Linked DNA regions of Homo sapiens: region 2 is linked to region 1. Evidence: promoter capture Hi-C in human tissues and cell types (Jung and others, 2019). All regions are on one chromosome and are shown on one strand. Each heading gives the region's core, a stretch centred on a gene start or on the middle of the fragment in contact. The rest is flanking DNA. Distances are from core to core; before and after follow the strand shown. Region 1 holds the start of CYP2C18 (cytochrome P450 family 2 subfamily C member 18). Region 2 overlaps LOC107984257 (a long non-coding RNA gene).

What was found. The method cuts DNA at HindIII sites, captures the fragments that hold promoters and counts their contacts. A contact is called where the count stands out against the background at its distance.
Region 2: a contact is called between a fragment that was not itself captured here and the fragment with the promoter of CYP2C18 in region 1, in 1 of the 25 tissues and cell types used here (mesendoderm cells).

What each region holds. Positions count from the first base shown.
Region 1 is chr10:94,681,776-94,686,882 of GRCh38, reverse strand. It overlaps CYP2C18 (cytochrome P450 family 2 subfamily C member 18), which reads right to left and starts at 3,154. Exons shown (of 9, transcript NM_000772.3): 1 at 2,896-3,154. The coding sequence starts at 3,063. The HindIII fragment of the contact is 11,159 bases long and covers 1-5,107 here.
Region 2 is chr10:95,178,698-95,183,463 of GRCh38, reverse strand. The region is part of intron 3 of LOC107984257 (a long non-coding RNA gene); the gene reads left to right. Among named protein-coding and RNA genes, the nearest start is that of ACSM6, 13 kb to the left of the region's middle. RefSeq lists a silencer at 1-130. The HindIII fragment of the contact is 3,205 bases long and covers 754-3,958 here.

The DNA of each region.
Region 1 (5,107 bases), core at 1,905-4,404:
ACTTCCACTACCATTTTCCTTCAGGCAAAAAAATATAGCAAATGACTGTGAAGCAAAGAAAGCAGCAGGCCTTTATCATTTTGATTCTACCTTACCACTTGAAATGTTTCTCTTCTGGCAAAATGCATTATTTTATTCCACTATTTCTGACAATGACAAAAAAGAAAAACATACTCCACAGGAAGTATTTGCTTTACAATAGCATACTTTAATAATCAGCCTCTGCTGGTACAGGAGGAATGCTGAGGAATGTTCCTATAACATATAACCTTTAATAACTGGCCTCCAGTAATACAGAAGTTTCTATGTGACATTAACGGTTATATGTGGCAAGCCCACAGCTAACATCATATTTAATGGTGAAAAGCTAAAAGCTTTTCCTCTAAGATCAGAAATAAGAGAAGAATGCCCCCTCTGACCATTTCTGTTCAACAGAGTACTGGAAGTCCTAGTCAGAGCAATTAGACTAAAGACAGAAAATATTCATATAGGAATATTCGTATAGGAAAGGATGTATTCATGTAGGAAAGGATGAAGTGAAATTGTCTGTTTCCTGATGAAATAATCTTATATGTAGAAAATCTAAAGACTTCAGTACAAAAGTGCTAGAACTGATAAACAAATTCAGTAAACTTGAAGGATAAAAAATCAACATGCAAAAATCAGTGGCATTTTTATACACTAGCAACAAAATATCTAAAAAAGAAATTAAGAGAACAATTAATTTATAGTAGCATCAAAAAATAAAATACTTATGAATAAATTTAATCAAGGAAGAGAAAGATCTATATACTGAAAACTACAAATCATTGATGAAAGAAATTGAAGATGACACAAATAAAGGCAAAGATATCCCATGTTCATGGATTGGAAAAACTAATAGTGGAAAAATGTCCATATTACCCAAAGCAATATACAGATTCAGTGCAATCCCTATCAAAATTTTAATCTCATTCTTCACAGAAATAGAAAAAAAATCTTAAAATTTGTATGGAACCACAAAAGACCCCAAATAACTAAAGCAAATTAATCAAAAAGAATAAAGCTGGAGGCATCACACCACTGAACTGCAAAATATGTTACAAAGCTATAGTAAGCAAAACTGCATAGCATTAGCATAAAAATAGACACACTGATTAAAGGAAAAGCGTAGAGAACCCTGAAATAAGCCCACACATCTATAATCAATTGATTTTTGACAAAGGTGCCAAGAACATACAATGGGGAAAGCACTCTTCAGCAAAAGGTGTTGGGAAAACTGGATATTCATATGCAAAGAATAAAAGAGAATCCTAATCTCACCCTTATACAAGAATTAACTCAAAATGAATTAAAGCCTTAAGCATAAGACCTGAAACTAAAAACTACTGAAAGAAACCATATAGAAAAACTCCATGACATTGGTCTAGGCAATGATTTCTTGGATATGATCCTAAAAGTACAGGCCATGAAAGCAAAACTAGACAAATGAGATTCTGACCACCCAAAATACTTAGAAACTCAAATTACTCAATAACAAATAAATAATTCTATTTAAAACGAGCAAAGGGGTCAAGTGCAATGGCTCATGTCTGTAATTCCAGCACTTTGAGAGACAAAGGTGGGTGGATTGCTTGAGCCCAAGAGTTCAAGACCAGCCTGGACAACATAATGAGACCACATCTCTACAAAGCATTAAAAAATTATCCAGGCATGGTGGCATACACCTGTAGCCCCAGCTACTTGGGGGTCTAAGGTAGAAGGATGGCTTGAGCCCAGGAGCTCAAGGCTGCAGGGACCATGATCCCATCACTACACTCCATCCTACAACAGAGCAAAACCCTGTCTCTATTAATTAATTAATTAATTAATTAATTAAATGGGCAAAGGATTTGAGTAGACATTTTTCAAAAAAAGACATACAAATGGCCAAGATATATTTTTTAAATACTCAACAAATTTAATCATCAGAGAAATGCAAATTAAAACCACAATGAGATAACTCATCACAACTCATAGATAAGATATTATTATTATCAAAAAGATAAAAAGATAACAAGTGTTGACAAAGATGTGGAATAAAGTGAACCTTGGGTATGTAAATTAGCATTGTGATTTGAGAAAACAGTATGGATGTTCCTAAAAAAAACAAAAATAGAACTATCAGATGATCCAGCAATCCCACTACCAGTATATACCCAAAGGAATTGAAGTCAGTATGTGGAAGACATGTCTGTACTTCCATGTTTATTGCAGTGCTATTGACAATAGCCAAGATATGGAAACAACCTAAGTGTTCATCAATAAATTAATGGATTTTGTATGTGACATATATGTACAATGAAATGCTATTCAGCCTTTTAAAGAGGAAAAAATATTCTTATTTATGACGGCATGGATGAATCTACAGAACATCATATTAATTAAATAAGCCAGGCAGAGAGAGGCAAATATCATATATGATCTCACTTCTATGTGGAATCTTAAAAAGTTAAACTCAGAGAAGTAGAGATTAGAATGGTGGCTACCAGAGGCTGGCAGGTGGAGATGGGCCAAATAAGGGGATACGTTGGTCAACAGGTACAGAGTTACACTTAGATAGGAGGAATAAGCTCGGGTGTTCTATTGGACAGCAAGGTGACTATAATTAATATTAATGTACTGTATATTTCAAAACAGCTAAAAAAGAGGATTTTAAATGTTCTCACTACAAAGAAATGACAAATATTTGAGATGATGGATATGCTAATTACCCTGATATGATCAATTCACAATCTATACATGTATCAAAATGTAATATTGTACCCCATTAATATATACAATTATCATTTATCACTTTAAAATGAAATAAAACTTTAAGAATTGTGAGGTTAAATACACCTTGTACATTACTGGAGGAACATAAAGCATACTTACATTGGTTAAGGATTTGCTCATGTCCTTAACATCTAACTGCAGGATATTTCCAATAATCGGGAGAGGAGTGGGGCCAGACGGGAGCCTCCCTCTTCCAGAGCTCTGCCTCCAGAGTGAAAGGAGAAACAAACAGGAGAGACAGAGCACCAGAGCCACAGCTGGATCCATTGAAGGCTTCTCTTCTTAGTAAGACAACTGCGGGCTTTCACTTCAAGGCTTTTATAACACTCCCTACTAATCCACCTGTGATTCTGACTCTGACTGTGACTAGTCAGCAAAAAGCACTTTAATCTCTCTTTTGAATGAACATTGGCTCACTGAAGAAGATAAAAATAAGGTGTTCTTTTTTCTTGTTCTTTCCGGTGCCCCACCCTGGAGATTCTGGTTTAACTAGTCTGAAGCAGAGCCCAGGATTTTGTTGTTGTTGTTGTTGTTTTTCCTTGAGATGGAGTTTCGCTCTTGTTGCCCAGGCTGGAGTGCAATGGCAAGATCTCAACTCACTGCAGCCTCCACTTCCTGGATTCGAACGATTCTGCCTCAGCTTCTGGCGTGGCTGGGATTACAGGAATGCACAACTACGCCCAGGTGATTTTGTATTTTTAGCAGAGACAGGGTTTCACCATGTTGGCCAGGCTGGTCTCCCTAAGTGCTGGGATTACAGGCATGAGCCACCGTGCCTGGCTAGGCCTAGGTTTTTTCAAACAGCCCAGGTGGTTCCACTGTGCAGCCAAAATTGAGAAACAATGAAATAAATTATTTCATCAAAAAATTATTCAAAATTTTGGATTTTTAGATTGATGAGCAGTTGGAAATATGACTTTGAGGGCAATCTGTGTATTATATTCCTTGTACATAAAATAATGTTTATCCTATTGAGAGGAGTTAGCCAGCTTGCATTAGGCAGGCAGTAAGGGAAGGGTCCCCAGAGAACCTCCAACCCTTCCAGGTCATTGCCCAATCCACAAAAACCCCAAGTACTTACACTAGATGTTTTGTGCAGATAAGGGAACTTGCACAGGGAGCTTGCCTAAATATGCCCACAGTGAAAAATTCCTACCTTTAACACATGCGCAGGAAGGGAAATAAATCAATATGGAGTGGCTTAGACTAAGAGCCCACACGCGCAATGGAAGGAAGGGGTGGAAACACCAGGAATTCACGCCTTATGCAAATAAGTATCCCAGCCTCATCAGCTTTTCTATAAAAGTCCTGGTATTCAACTGTGAAGTGGCAATCTGCAACCTGCTTTCAGGGCCTCTCTCTTTGCTGAGAGTTTTCCTTTCACTTAATAAATTCTACTCCACTCACTCTCCAGTGTCTGTGTGCCTAATTCTTCCTGCATAAGACAACTCGGACCTAGCTGAGCTAAGGATCTGCAAGACTGCAACACTATAATGCTTTCTCAAACACTAGATCATTTTCCTTGAAAATGAGATCCTTTTGAAATATTTTAATGTAGTACTAACATTACAGCTGCCTAAACATAAAGCAGCTAACAAACTCATTCATCTTAAATGGCTAAACCGGTTATCAATTAACTAAGTAAACATACACACCTTTTTCCATTAAACCCCGTGAAAAACACTGGACGGCTGAGAATATTATTTCATATTTTCCAAATGGGGAAAGGGAGACTCTAGGAGAACAGATGACCTGTCCAGTGTCCCACAGCTCATAAATGGCAGGCTGGGATTTGAACTGAGATCTTCTGACGCCCGCTGTGGTATATTCTCACTTACACCAGAGCTGCCTTGAGAACAGTTTTAGCAAAATAAAATAAATCCTAAAAACATTTCTCACTCTGAATCTACACCACACTGTTCACAAAATAACAGGGTTGTACATTCTCAAGAGAAGAAATAAAAGCTAGGGTTTCTCCCCTCTCTGTCACTGAAGAGCTGAAACCTACTCAGTATAACTGAGGAAAGAGCCAATCTCAGAGAATTAAGTGGGTAAGATCTCAGAAACTATGGCTTCTCCAGCTCCCACTTGCCTCCAGACACTGCTGTTTCTATTGCTTTTTTGGTCTGTGTCAGAAATAATGGAATGAAATATTGCACAGCAAGGAAGGGGAATTATAGGCAGAACAACAGGCATGTGCTTCAGTGGTGAATGGGAGGTAGGGAAATCATTAAACAGACCCATGGCACAGAACAAACACAGTTGTGCAGACCTGAACTGGAGATGACATTTAGCGCTCATGAGGCTCTAT
Region 2 (4,766 bases), core at 1,107-3,606, 500 kb before region 1:
CCCGCCAGGCCCGAGGGTCGCCACGGACTTTGCCCTCTGGTTCCTGCCCAGGAGCAGCTGCCAGGTCCCCTCCCTGCCAAGCTTCTCCCCGAAAAGTTCTAAGGTTGTCAGGTCCGCCAGGAAGTGACATTTTTCTCCCCTCACTGTAAGGCTGGAAACTCTTGAATCCGGGCATTTTATGCATATTCTTAAATATGATGTTTCAGTCAAAGCCTTGATAATATAACCAATATTTCCGATTTTATCCTGCTTATAAAGAGCCGATATGTAAACGAAAATTAGAATATTTGTGAATAGTTTCCAAATTTTGGAGGGATCAAGTAGGGAGAAAAACCAAATGCTTCCACCTTTGTTTACAAGTGTGCTTTACCAAACTGATGTAAATTATAGATAACATCTGTGAGAAACCTTTCTTAAATCTAGAATACAACCAACAGTGTTTTAAATAAAAGTTATAAAAATATTATCTTAATTTCATAGATTTTTTGTTTTGCTTGATCTTGCTTAGCAGTTTTTTGAACCCTTAAGTTTATTAGAGTTCTAGGAATTTGTGTTTAGTTTATTTTTTTAAAACATTTGTTTTAATATATTTAAAGGGTATAAGTACAAGTTTCTTACATGCCTATATTGCATAGTGGTAAAGGCTGGGGTAGTTTATTGATCTGAAAGTTATCAGAAACCTGTGTTCAAGAGGACCTGTTAAGAGTTTTTTCCATGAAAAGCAAATTTGGACTATCGCTGATCGCAAATATTTTTCGAATTCAAAGCAGAACTGTGGATGATGGAAACAGAATAGCTATGATGAAAATCTGATGAAAGTTCCCAATTGACAAGGAAATTTAGTTACTTCTCTTACGTGCAGCATGTTAAGACAATAACCAGAATCATGACTGACAGCATCACATCAGGACCACCAGGCTTTTATAAATTTCATACAATCTTCAGAATGCATTAATAACATATTTATACAAATGTAACTTTAGCAAATATTTAGCGTAACAATCAAAATTATGAATCATTAAATTTTTATAAGTTTATATAATTTTTGGAACATGCGTGTCAATAACATACCTATAAATGTAACTGAAGTGGGATCTAATATCACATAATTTGACAATGCTCTCCCATGCAGTATCACAACATTTGACAATGCCCGCTCATACAGTCTACCAAATCTAATAATTTAATATCTCTACAAGGTGAGAGATCCATTCTTTAGACTCTCCAGGGACCCAGCTGAACAGTCCCGAAGTTAATTTTAAGACTTAATTTAGGATTTTTGACTCTGGGGAAACCTGTCAAAGATTGAAAACATTTGATCAAAACAGAATCACAGGTCACTGTTAAAAGAATAGTCATTTAACCAGAGACTTAAAAGCTATACAGAAAGTTATGTGGATATGAAAACTCGAACCCTTTTAAAGCTTAGTTTTCCTGAGTAATCAAAAAGGGTACTTGAATTTAATCAGACACAGGAAGAGTATGTACGGGGATATGAGTGTACACTGTATTTTAGAGGAATGTAAACAAGGAAATTAGTACCATGAGCCAGGGAATACATGGCTGTTAGTAACAGCATGGGAAGTTTCCTGGTTACATGGAACAACAATTTAGACATAGGAAGAAAAGCCAAAAGTACAGATTCAAGTTATGTTGGAGGAAAACATTGGTTTTCCAGACCTTCATGCTAACCATTTCAGTGTCAGGCCATAACAGCAGAACTAGAACCAGAGAAAAAATGTTACAGGAGTTGACAAAAATGTTGAAAGACAGAGCTACCACTGTTACCATTGTGGCCATGCAAAAAGATACACCTTTTTAAAGGGGGAGAAAACAGAAGGCAGTGGTTTATGACCTGCAATGTGGTACAGAGAAAGTTGAATTTCGGATATAAATCTGAGAAGTTTGAAAAAGAAAAATGTTACCTCTAGAAATGAAATGGCCATTCTGAAAGAAAGACACCGCATTTCCAATCTGAAACTAGGGAAGTTAGTTAGATCTCAGGAAGAATTAGAACTAGTTTAAATCTTCTATTAAATAAGATTTTAGAATTAAAAATAAAACCTCTTAAAATTTTACTAAGAGCAAATCAGTAAGCAAACTGTCATTCTAACATAGGGGACCAACTTATTTTGTTGTTTTGTATTAATGTATTTTAATGTCAAATTTCAATCTTTAGAAAGACTTCTGTTACCAAAATTACATCTTAATATCCATAACTTTCTTTACATCTGTCTCCTACTTACTAGTTCTTTTCTAGCTACTGTGAAACAACTTTTAAATGATCCCCAAATTCGATAAAAATATTCTTTTTCTCAATAAAATGTATTTTTTATGACTTTCTAATAATTTTTTTCTCACCAAGAACGCCTTATTTTTTGGCACATTGTATATATAGAATTATATGTACTAATTAAAAATTTTAACTCTTAGTAACCTTAAATTTTAGTGAAAATTTCCTTAATTTTTTAAGACGGAATCTCACTCTGTTGCCGAGGCTGGAGTGCAGTGGCATGATCTTGGCTCACTGCAACCTCCGCCTCCCGGGTTCAAGTGATTCTCCCACCTCGGCCTCCCAAGTAGCTGGGATTATGGGCATGCGCCACCACACCTGGCTAATTTTTTGTATTTTTGGTAAAGATGGGGCTTTGCCATGTTGGCCAGGCTGGTCTGGAACTCCTGACCTCAGATGATCTGCCCGCCTCAGCCTCCCAAAGTGCTGAGATTACAGAAATTTTATTTTTGTAATAAAAATAATTGTGAACCACCATGCCTAGCTGAAAGTAAGAAATTTTAAATTGTCTGTCACCTATCAGTATTTTATAGATAAGAACCATTTTATAATTTTTACAAACATATTCCCTAATATATATATATATATAATACACACACACACTTTTTTTTTTTTTCTTTTTTGAGACAGGGTCTGGCTCTGTCACCTGTGCTGGAGTGCAGTGGCACAGTCTCAGTTCACTGTAACCTTTGCTTTCTGGGCTCTAGTAATTCTTCGATTTCAGCCTCTCGAGTAGCTGGGACTACAGGCGTATGCAACCAGATCTGGTTAATTTTTGTATTTTTTTGTGGAGACTGGGTTTTGCTATGTTGCCCAGCCTGGTCTCGAACTCCTGAGCTCAAGCGATCCACCCAACTTGGCCTTCCAAAGTACTGAGATTACAGATGTGAGCCCCGGCCCACAGTGTGAGCCATGGCCCCTGGTCCCCTAGAACATAACTTTAAAATCTTATTTGGAAATGACCTACACATTTAATTAGTATCTATTATTTAATGTAACTTTAAGACATCAAGTTACATGAAAACTTTATAGACATTTTTCTCATTTACATTTAATTTTCTAACATTTACCTGGATTACCAGTGAGAACTGGGATATTAGACAAAACTCGATCTCATTTCAAGTTATTTCCCTGTTAATCATTTTTACAGCTTGTGAATATCAATGTTCACCTGATTAAGGACCTTGAAGTTAAATGTAGGAGCATGTTCCCAACAACTCAGAAGATACAGCTGTTTTTATTAAAGCAACAGTATTAAGTTAGTTTTGCTTATCAAATAATTATACAAAAATCACTTTGTTTTAGCCTGGGCTTACAGTTGTATAACCTTCATGTGAAACCCTGACACCTTAAAATATCTATCGGAGACAAATATTAAAGTAACCAGTAAACCCAGGCAGAAATATATGCTGACAATTCTAAAGACATTTTTATTTTTACCAATAATTTAAAAATGAGCTTCAGTAAATAAATAAAATCAAATAATAAAAATAAAATAATAATAAAAAGATTTATTTAAGTCATGTGAACTAAAAGGCATTTGGTAATTATTATATATTTTGTACTTTATATGAGTACTCATTTATCTTTAAGGAATTTCTGGCTGACTATGCCAGATTTCACCATGTAGACATAATATGTAACATGATACATGTGCTTCTATATGAACACATCTAAACACATATGTATACACACAAAAAATAAAAATCTCATCGCTTTTATTTTAGAATTTTGGTTGTGAGATAGTAATACAAACTCACTGGCTGATAAAACATTTGGACCCAAATTATATTTCTGACAAAATTGGGACCTGTTTACATATAGAGGCTAAACTTTATTTGCCCTAATAGATAATCTGGTGAAGGCTGTGGATTTTGGGTAAAGCAGTTTTCACAGCAGTTTGAGTAAAAAAAAAAAAAAAAAAAAAAAAGCCTTTCACCCTTTTCTCTGCCTTTGTTCAGTTTCTAATAAATTTATGGTTAAATTGTCAATGTGTACATTTTAACTAGGACTGGTGGAATAGTGTAAGAAAGAACAAAATCTCCAAGTAGCATTGAATTAGTAACCAGTCTATCTTTTGTTTGCTGATTTAGTTTGCTTGGTTAGCAAATGTGGGCAAAAGAATTTTAGTAGTTTCTTTTTTCTCTCCGCTTTTACATTTTGGCTTCTGTGTGGCAACAAAAGCAAACATTTTTTTTGCTGGACAGAGATAACATATTATTGCTCTGAGCTTAAGATTTTGACCTGTTTGATCTAAGAGCCTAACTTTTGTAAACACTTACCTAGTTCCTTTTCTTTTAGATTATTAATTTTTAAGTAAGTTAAGTGTTTTATCACTGTACATAATTGTAAGACAAATCTAAATGTGTATTTATAAAGGTATCTAGGTTGTTGCTCACCATGGAGCCATTGTAACTTGTAAAGCCATTAACTTAAAAGCCCTTTAAGACTTATTTTTAAAAATTTTTAGCTG